Linked DNA regions of Homo sapiens: region 1 is linked to region 2. Evidence: promoter capture Hi-C in 16 types of primary human blood cells and fetal thymus (Javierre and others, 2016). All regions are on one chromosome and are shown on one strand. The core of a region is centred on a gene start or on the middle of the fragment in contact, and the rest is flanking DNA. Distances in the headings are between cores, read along the strand shown.

What was found. Contacts are between HindIII fragments. The CHiCAGO score rates a contact against its expected background, and 5 or more counts as called.
Region 1: a fragment that was not itself captured here is called in contact with the fragment with the promoter of IFTAP in region 2 in 1 of 17 cell types (fetal thymus); the score reaches 6.1 in fetal thymus.

The regions. Positions count from the first base shown.
Region 1 is chr11:36,668,654-36,673,499 of GRCh38, forward strand. LOC107984325 (a long non-coding RNA gene) reads left to right here and starts at 2,236. Exons shown (of 3, transcript XR_001748186.1): 1 at 2,236-2,869; 2 at 3,345-3,432; 3 at 4,534-4,809. The HindIII fragment of the contact is 1,775 bases long and covers 1,499-3,273 here.
Region 2 is chr11:36,593,252-36,597,859 of GRCh38, forward strand. It overlaps IFTAP (intraflagellar transport associated protein), which reads left to right and starts at 1,251. Exons shown (of 6, transcript NM_138787.4): 1 at 1,251-1,341. RAG2 (recombination activating 2) reads right to left here. Exons shown (of 2, transcript NM_000536.4): 2 at 1-944. The coding sequence starts at 917. RefSeq lists an enhancer at 1,158-1,297. The HindIII fragment of the contact is 5,310 bases long and covers 1-2,113 here.

The DNA of each region.
Region 1 (4,846 bases), core at 1,136-3,635, 77 kb after region 2:
TCAAGTTATAGGTATATTTAAAAGGCCTTTATGGTTTTCGCTTCTTGGATCTTGTTTTTCTGGAAAAAGGTTTTTTTCTTCTCAGTCTACTGAATTATTTTTCTCCGTTTTTTGTCTTGCCACACTTAATGCATACATGAGAGGCCCTAAGATAACTTCTGGTAGCATGGGACTCCGTGGGAAAACAGAGGAGGTGCCACAGACATTGTTTTGGGAAAAAAACCTCTGTTTTCCTCATGAAACCCCAGGAATTAAAAGCAGATACTTCCCTCTCAAAATCAAAGGCTCTGTTCTGTTTTGCCTTGTGTTATCTGGCCATTTTGAGTTTTGGGGGTATCAAATTACTTCACATTAGGAGAGAGCTTTGGTGTGTAATAATTAAGTAAGAAATACACTCTTTAAAAGATGGCTCTCCCTCCTTTTGGGGATCCAAAAATCCAGCATAAAAAGGCATCCTTAATTTTCCAGATCTGTCTTTACCTGTGGCTGTGCTTGCTTATTAGTCCCTAAAGATGCATGCCATCCCGGCCCTGTTCCTCCAAGGGCTCCACCCTGAAGCCAGTAATCCAGTTATGAAAGCGTCAAATAAAAATCTTACAAGTGCTGAATCTTCTGTCTGTGTCGCTGTGTATGTGTTTTGTGTGATGTCTATAAAAAGAGCTCCAATTAATTGGCTTAAAGAAAAAATAAGCACTGAAATATTTTTTAGTTCGTGTGACTTTAATATTTAAGCTGGTACATAACTAAAATCACTTACTGGCTGGGTGCGGTGGCTCATGCCTGTAATTCCAGCACTTGGGAGGCCTAGGTAGGTGGATTGCTTGAGGTCAGGAGTTCGAGACCAGCCTGGCCAACATGGTGAAACCCTGTCTCTACTAAAATACAAAAATTAGCTGGGCATGGTGGCGGGTGCTTGTGATCCCAGCTACTAGGGAGGCTGAAGCAGGAGAATTGCTTGAACCCAGGAGGTGGAGGTTGCAGTGAGTTGAGATCGTGCCACTGCGCTCCAGCCTGGGCGACAGCAAGACTCTGTCTCAAGAAACACAACAACAATTAAAAACACTTACTAACCAGGCTTTTCACCAAAAATAAAAGTTGCTAAGAGTTAAGAGTGCAACATGTATTTGAGATCATTAAACAGTTTTACATTCAAGGCATATAAAAACAGTGAAATGTGTTTTTTAGTAAAAGATTATAAGAAAGCATGGAAATCCAAATTTTGCCCAGGAATAAGGGATTATCTTACATTTAATAAGATAAAGCTAAATGTTTAAGTAAGTTGTGGAAAGATTGTAAAAATTAATCTTGCAAAAATGTGTAAACCTAACTAAATTCAAAAGCATATTACATGGTCTTTTCATAAATTGAGCATTGAAATAAAAGCACAACAAGGGTGTCTTAAGACACTAATCTGCCCGTTAGTAAAAGAGGTTATAAAGGGCTTGTAAAGATTTCACCTCATGGTCAAATTGGTTAAGATTAGATGGAATCATCTATAAGCTTCCATTTAAAGAAATTGGGATTGATATCAGTAAATTAATGCAAGGGTAAAATTTTGCTTAAACAGGATTTTCATGTAATAATAAAGGATAATAAAAATTTTTGCTTTTTGAGTCATCGTTTTGGCAAAATAAATAATTTATGGCAATTTGGAATTCTATTTCATAACATCAAGTGTTTTAAACCTCTAACATTTAACAGGCACCCAAAAATCAAACTTTAAGTTTCAAAATTGTCTTTCCTGATGCCTGGCTTTCTGGATGGTTCAGAGGGCCCCTGAAACATTCAGAAAAGAGGTGAACAGGATTATTTGACATGTTTTGTCACATGAAATTGCCAAAACGATGTCCAATCTTCTTTAAGTTATATTTTGATGAATAATACTAACATATGTTCCAAAATTGTATGGGATTTCTAAAATTTTAATGTCTAAATATATGCTATCAATAGTAATTAGGGGTAAAGTTATAAGCCATGGAGATAACTAAATTTCTTTGTCAGTCTTTTTTTTTTTTTTTTTTTTGAGATGGAGTCTCACACTGTTGCCTAGGCTGGAGTGCAGTATCGTGATCTTGGCTCACTGCAAGCTCCACTTCCCGTGTTCATGCCATTCTCCTGTCTCAGCCTCCTGAGTAGCTGAGACTACCGGCACCCACCACCATGCCTGGCTAATTTTTTGTATTTTTAGTAGAGACGGGGTTTCACCATGTTAGCCAGGATGGTCTCGATCTCCTGACCTCGTGATCAGCCTGCCTTGGCCTCCCAAAGTGCTGGGATTACAGGCATAAGCCACCATGCCCAGCCTGTCAGTCATGTTTTTAACTGTAACTATCCTGGAAATTTTGTCATTCAAAGACCATTTTGTCTTGCTTTGTTCCTTCTTAAAAGATAGGTTATAATCAAGCTATAAAACTTGAACAGGTGTTCTCAAATGTGAGTTTTTAATAGCCTTGAAGATTGTAACATTGGAATAGAGAAAGAATGTGTGGGACTCATGAAGAACTGAAATGTTCACGAATGTCAAGCAATACAAGAGTTAACTAAATGGACTGCACTCAGAAAGTTAAAGCAACCTTTTTGACTTTTACTTGGAATGTTGCTGATCCTTGTTTTGTTTTTCAGAGTTAAGAAAACTTATTTTAAACTATTTATGGCCTTTAATAATTGAGTAAGGTATACTCCTGCAAACAAAATTTGGAGCACGTTTGTTTCTGTCTGCCTGGTTCCTCTAGAAGTTGGAAACTGCCTGTGAGTACTCTTAACTTATGGAAATATAGTTGTTTGCATCAGTGCAATAAGATCCATTTTTCTTTTTCAACAGGACACAACTGGAAAAGCTAGTTATTTTACCAAGGCTTTGACCGAAAGGGTATGCTTCCCTTTAAGAGTCTATCTTTACTTCCAGTGCCGATAAAAGCCTCTTGGGGAGAACTGGCCTCATCCCTTGTCTACACAGTCCCCGCACAGGGTTCCTAATCTGTGGTCAGTAAAGAATGTCACTTTCTAACAGGTCCAGGAGCTCCAAGTTTATCTTGGGACTCACAGGATAAAAACTCATGGCTGGGCTTTAAGAGGTCTTATCTGAGATTCCTTTTGAAACAGAGTGCCATCAAAGCCAATCCAAAAGGCTTACATAGAAATAATTATTCTTACTGTACTTTATGCAAATAATCAGGCCAAATATAAAACTAAAGTTTATTCTACAAACAACACAATACTATCATAATTTGCTTTTACCAAAAATGGGGACTAGAGAGAGAAACTATGCTCTAAAGCTTATCATTATGCTCCAAAGCTTATCATACATTTGTCATTAAATCATAGTCTCATTAATTGTTTTTCAGCTTTTTGCCTACATTTTAGACTAACCCTGCTTATTCCTGTGAATCAAGTGGTGATCTCCTGCAGCTTGGAAGAAACAAAAAGGCATAGGTAATGTGAAAATCTAGATCAATATGCTAGTTCTGGGCAATTATCCTGTAAATTCTGCCAGGTAATGAGAGTGAATAGGGTGCCCATAACTCAGAGGTTTCTTTGTTTAGGGAAATAGAACCAAGGAACTTTATAGATCCCCAAAGGGAAATTCTATATCTTAGCAAGTAAAATTTTAGATGGAAATTATCTACTTACACCACACTTGCAGGAATTGCTCTACTCACTCTACTATTTGTAGTAGAGCTATACACAGTAGCACTGTTTTTTGTTTTGTTTTGTTTTGTTTTTTTGAGGCTCAGTTTCGCTCTTGTTGCCCAGGCTGGAGTGCAATGGCGGGATCTCGGCTCACTGCAACCTCCATCTCCCGGGTTGAAGCGATTCTCTCCTGCCACAGCCTCCCTGGTAGCTGGGATTATAGGCATGCGCCATCACACCCGGCTACTTTTTTATTTTTAGTAGAGACGGGGTTTTCCCATGTTGGTCAGGCTGGTCTCGAACTCCCAACCTCAGGTGATCCGCCCACCTCGGCCTCCTAAAGTGCTGGGATTACAGGCATGAGCCACCACGCCTGGCCGGTAGCACCTTTTAATTGAAATATTGGACGGAGAGTTTCCATTGCTGCAATATTTTTTGCTTAATTATTATCCTTATAGTAGGGATAATAGCTGCCAACAAAAGGGAAGCATGAAAGTTTTACTATCACTGAGTTTGCTAGAACTTCTTATTGGGTTTGGTAATATGTCACATCCTGGTTATGCAAAGGTTATAAAGGAAAGAGATTTTCTGTGGAAGTCATGAAAGGATTGATAATTGCAGGAAAAATGTAGCCAAGGTTAACACTAAAGTTATTCTAGCCACCCAATCCAATGCCACTTTTCCTAAAAGGAATGTTACTTTTATATGAATGTTTCTGATTATGTACAGCGACATCTAGTGGAGGCAAACTGGTATTACAATCCATTGGTGTAACTAACAGGTATCAAACTCTACTGTCATAGTTATGGTCTATAGGCCCTCCATTAACAGTGGTAATCTCGATACTCATATTCTAATCCTATATTTTAAACCTCCTTGTAAAATTTATCTCTTTTCACCTAGAAGCAATCAAACCCCAAATGGTGCTGCAGACAGAGCCACACATGGACACACCATTCTTCTGAGAACACTTAGATTGACCTCAAGAGGAGGCCCAACCACTGTCCTCCAACAAGATGCCCCTTTTTAGCAGGAAGTAGCCAGAAAGAATCGTCATCCAATACCCCCTAACGGCAGTTAAGTTTATGTCTGTAGAGGGGGGAAATAATACAGGAGTTATTAAGAAATTATTTTTAGAGGTTCCGAGATGGCTGAATAGGAACAGCTACAGTCTACAGCTCCCAGCGTGAGCGACACAGAAAATGGGTGATTTCTG
Region 2 (4,608 bases), core at 1-2,500:
TCTGGGGTCTCCATCTCACGAATTTCTATCTTGTTGTCCTCTAAAGAGATGATGTTGCAGATCATTCTTTTTTGATTTTCAAGCTGATAGCCACCAACAATAACAAATTCATCATTGTTAGTTTGAGTCAGGATTGCACTGGAGACAGAGATTCCTCCTGGCAAGACTGTGCAATTCACAGCTGGGCTACCCAGGGGAAGATCAACCCTTATTCTGTACAGGTTGGCAGGCCGGATATTATTGGCAAGTGAATGTCCTCCTAAAATATAGATGGTGTCATTTTTGGCAATAGAGACATGAAAAGATAGCCCATCCTGAAGTTCTGGAAGAATGTATGATGTAGCACACCCAAATTCAAAATCCACCAGGAAAACACAGGGCAGGCAGTCAGCTACACTATTCCATTTTTCTGTGGTTCTGTGGGTAGAAGGCATGTATGAGCGTCCTCCAAAGAGAACACCCATACTTTTCCCTCGGCTGTACACCACATTAATGGAATGACCATATCTGGCTTCAGGAACATCTCCTACCAAGTCTTTCTCTGTGCAGCGAAAAGTAACCTTTTTGTTGTTCTTGCAAACAATAGACATGACATAAATCTTATCTGAAACCTCATTGTTTGGTGTTTTCCCTCCATGGATGATGTATTGATGCTTTTCAGACTCCAAGCTGCCTTTGAATGTGCAAGTGGCTGGGTAGCGAAGAGGAGGGAGGTAGCAGGAATCCTTAGAGAAAATTGTAGGCTTCAGTTTGACATGGTTATGCTTTACATCCAGATGGAAAACTCCAGTGGGGCAGGATCTTTTGGGCCAGCCTTTTTGTCCAAAGAAGAAAACTTGTCCATCAAAATTCATCAGTGAGAAGCCTGGCTGAATTAAGGCTATGTTATTACTGACTGTTACCATCTGCAGAGACATAGTTTCTGATGGTACGTAGATTTTTGTCTGAAAGAATTATAAAATAAAATGACTTAGAGATCGCTTCATATAATCATCGTATTTAGATTCCTTCACATGTGAATAGCATTTTTTTAAGTCCTCCCACACGCTTGCAGTGGGACTGAATGAGGAAAATCCAAGGAGTTAGGTCAGTAAAGAGCCACAGAACCTTTACTGCCATTCCATCCAAGGAGCTGGGACATGTTTTAGCCACGGACTATATGCTCCCTAGGATTTCTGGGAATTGTAGTCCTTTTCCGTAAAGAGTCACCATGCGTCAGCTGAAAGAACCACATTTCCCAAGAATCCGTTCTCTCTGGGATGTGTAGCTTTGGAAATCTGTCTTTGTTGCTCTGGGAGAGGGGACTCCTGGAATGTGTCTGTGAATAAAGACTAGCCGAAGGTGCGAAGTGACTAGACGGGAGCAAAGGAGGAAAACTAGGGAATGGGAGGTGAGAGTGGCTGACACCGACCCAACGTCCGGGTTGCCGGAAGGCTGCAGCGCCCGGAGCGGTGTCGGGCAAACCGCTACCCTGGTATTGCTGGAGCCTCTCCTGGGGACTTTTGAACAGGTGACCCGATAGGAAGCACAACTGCTTCTGTTGGAGTGCGGTTACCTGGAGACCGCAGTCTGAAGGGACTCCCGGCAGAGATGTCGTTACGGTGTCCTGCCTGTCTGGATGCTTAGGAGCGCGACTCAAAACTACACCCCTGACGACCCTGGAGGTGCTTGGGGCGGGAGGTTGAAGGGGGCACCGAGGTTACAAAAGCCGTGACTGTCTTACAGAACCGAAAGATGGATCTTTGAATCCCTAGAGTGCAGGGGAGACATTGCCTGTTAAAGATGTTTACCACTTCTACATTTAGTAATAGAAATACAGTTATTAGGTTTTAACGAGTGCACTTTGAAGGTCCTTTGTTTTCTTCACTGTTTTTACTCCTGTTTTTAGGGTTCTTTTAGGGAAGCAGAGAAGGTTCCTAAACACATCTTCTTTTCATCTTCATTCTAGGAAAATAGAGTTAGTGGCTTTTTCACATCTTTCCAGTCCAAGAACTTTTGGGTAATTCTTTAATAATTCTGTAGTAAGTAAGCAGGGACTAAGCATAGAAGTGTTTGAATTATTCAGAATTTCATACTTGTGTTACAACAAAAAGAATATTTACTAGATGAAGGAAGCTTGATAAATTTCTATTTTATTATTGTTTACCTTAGAGAGTTGTGGAATACACTCCGTGTTTGCAGTGTGATGTCCTGTGCACCAAATGTTAAAGGAAACAAAACATAGCACAGATTTCTTGACTTTTAAGAGTTAATTCTTAATATGCTTCAAAAGCAGTATAAACAATGGCTGAGTGTGGACTCTGAATGCTTACTGGCTGGATTCAAATCCTGGCTCTGCCACTAACTACATGACTTTGGGCAAGTTATGTAACCTCTGTGTGCCTCAGTTTCCTCATCTGAAAACTGAGATAATAATTTTACCAACCTCATATATTGATGTCAGTTATGATTAATAGTTGAATATACGTAAAGTACTTAGAACAGGGATTTGCATATAGTAGACGATAGTTATGATTATTTTAAAATTTACCAAAAATAAGGTCTAGTGCATACGCACCTGCCAGTAATGGCAGTTGATAAGGTTGGAGAGGATGAGAAGGGGCTTTAGGATATGGGAATCAGGTCAGTGGGTATAGACAGATAAACATTTGAACTAAAAGAATTGGATAAACATATATGATGAGGGTGCTGGTAGTAGTTAATTTATTAACAGAAGATAGTTAATATTTTATTCTTCTTGTCACCCTTTGTCTAACTGGGGATAATCTTGGTATATATTCACTGGGCTGTTTTGAGAAATAAATGGGATAGCACGTGTAAATCACATAGAACAGTGCCTGGCACATAAACACTCAATAAATGTTAATTGATACTATAATTTATCTAATTTATCTTTATTCCTCCTGCAAAGATTCCTTGGACTATTTAGAATCTCTGGTCACTCTAATGAGATGGTAGTGTTTTTTTTTTGTTTTTTTTTTTTTTTGCTTTAAAGAACTTCTGTAGATCAGCTGTAATTTACTGCTAAATAATCTCTTGTAGTTATTATTTTCAGTCTACTTGGGAGACTCGTAAGGGGGTGATCTTTCAACAATTATCTGGTGGGTTATTAAAGCAGGTGAGGAAATGGTGTCTCAGAAGGATTATTATCAAAGTTATGAAAACAAGCCTGTCTCCCTCAGTTGTATATTCAGCAAACTGCCCTGCTTATAAAATAATCTAGGCAGTGTTTTATTTATATCATGGCCTACCCAAGCCTACATGAGGGAAGGCATCTGAGCAACTATGAAAAATGCTATTCATAGAAACTAAAAGGAGACATTATTGACCCTCACTTCAGAAAACTGTAGGTGATTACACTCAGCCTGAGTGATTATGATCAGAGAGTTGTCCCATTTTGGGTGGGGGGAACACCAAAGCCAAGGCCTGCTTGTTTCAAACACCTGTGATGACTGTTATTGAGATACAAGGCAAGCCATACAGTGGTAATGGATTCCAGATCCAAAGGGATTTTTCAAGAACAGTTGTTTTAAAGCAATGTTTTTATTGTCGCCTCTTGGTTTCATTTTAAGGTTGCTGTAGGAATTGTGGCTTCTCGTAAGTGAAAACATGATTATTGTAGATTACACAGAAACATTTTCTTGGGCAAGACATAAGGAGGATTGTCCATTTTTGTAGCTTAGTCTAGGCCCCTAAAGATTTTTGAAACAGGGCTTTTGACCTGTTTTCCCTTTGATGCTCTGCTTTTGGCTCATTTCATAATTTCAAGGCCCTAAAAACAGTGGTAAAGTTTCTTATTGCTAAGATGAATTACCTCCTCTTGTAACATGGTTCAAGTGTGAGTAATTAATTTTTAGATTACTCACTTTAACCAGATGATGTATGCATTTAAAGAATAAACAGGAACATTGAAAGTGTTTTCACATGATTTTGCCACATTTGGTTTTTGAAATTTTGCTTTATCAACTTGAATATATTTTTCACTGGAGTAGACCATTGTATCTCTTCCATAGTTTCAATATGACTGTATTAGTCACACCTTGGTTTTTAAAAAGAGTTTTTAAATGATTATACTATATCTAAAATAACCTACTGAAGTCTTTTCCTTTTAATAGGCTACATAAAAACAGGCAGATTTAAAAGAATAAGATCCTGTTCTTCAGCTGAGGGAGGCTTCAAGGTCAACACATTAAAGATTCTTTGTAAAGGACAGAAATATAGGACCAATAAATATATACAATTTTCCCAACCCCATGCTAACATTCTTCAGCAGGGAGATTTTCATTTATTCTCTCTGATGCTAGGGCATAGTTGAGTATAATGAAAGGACTCATAGTATGAGGTCTGGGTTTATAGTTCCTAATATCTGAACTGACTTTTTCTTTTCCAAAGAAAGATACTGTACTGTGAAACATTAAATCTTGCTGATCCGTGCTGGCCATGTTTTCTTGATTGCTCCAGAGTAGCAAGTAACCTCATGTAAGTAACTTCAGGCATTTAATGTGTGAATAACAGTATCTTGCACTGTTAATCAGGTTTGAGGCATATATTATTTTATTTCTGCTGGCAGTAAAACCAGGATTAGGTCTTCCTTCCTGTCTTAGGCCA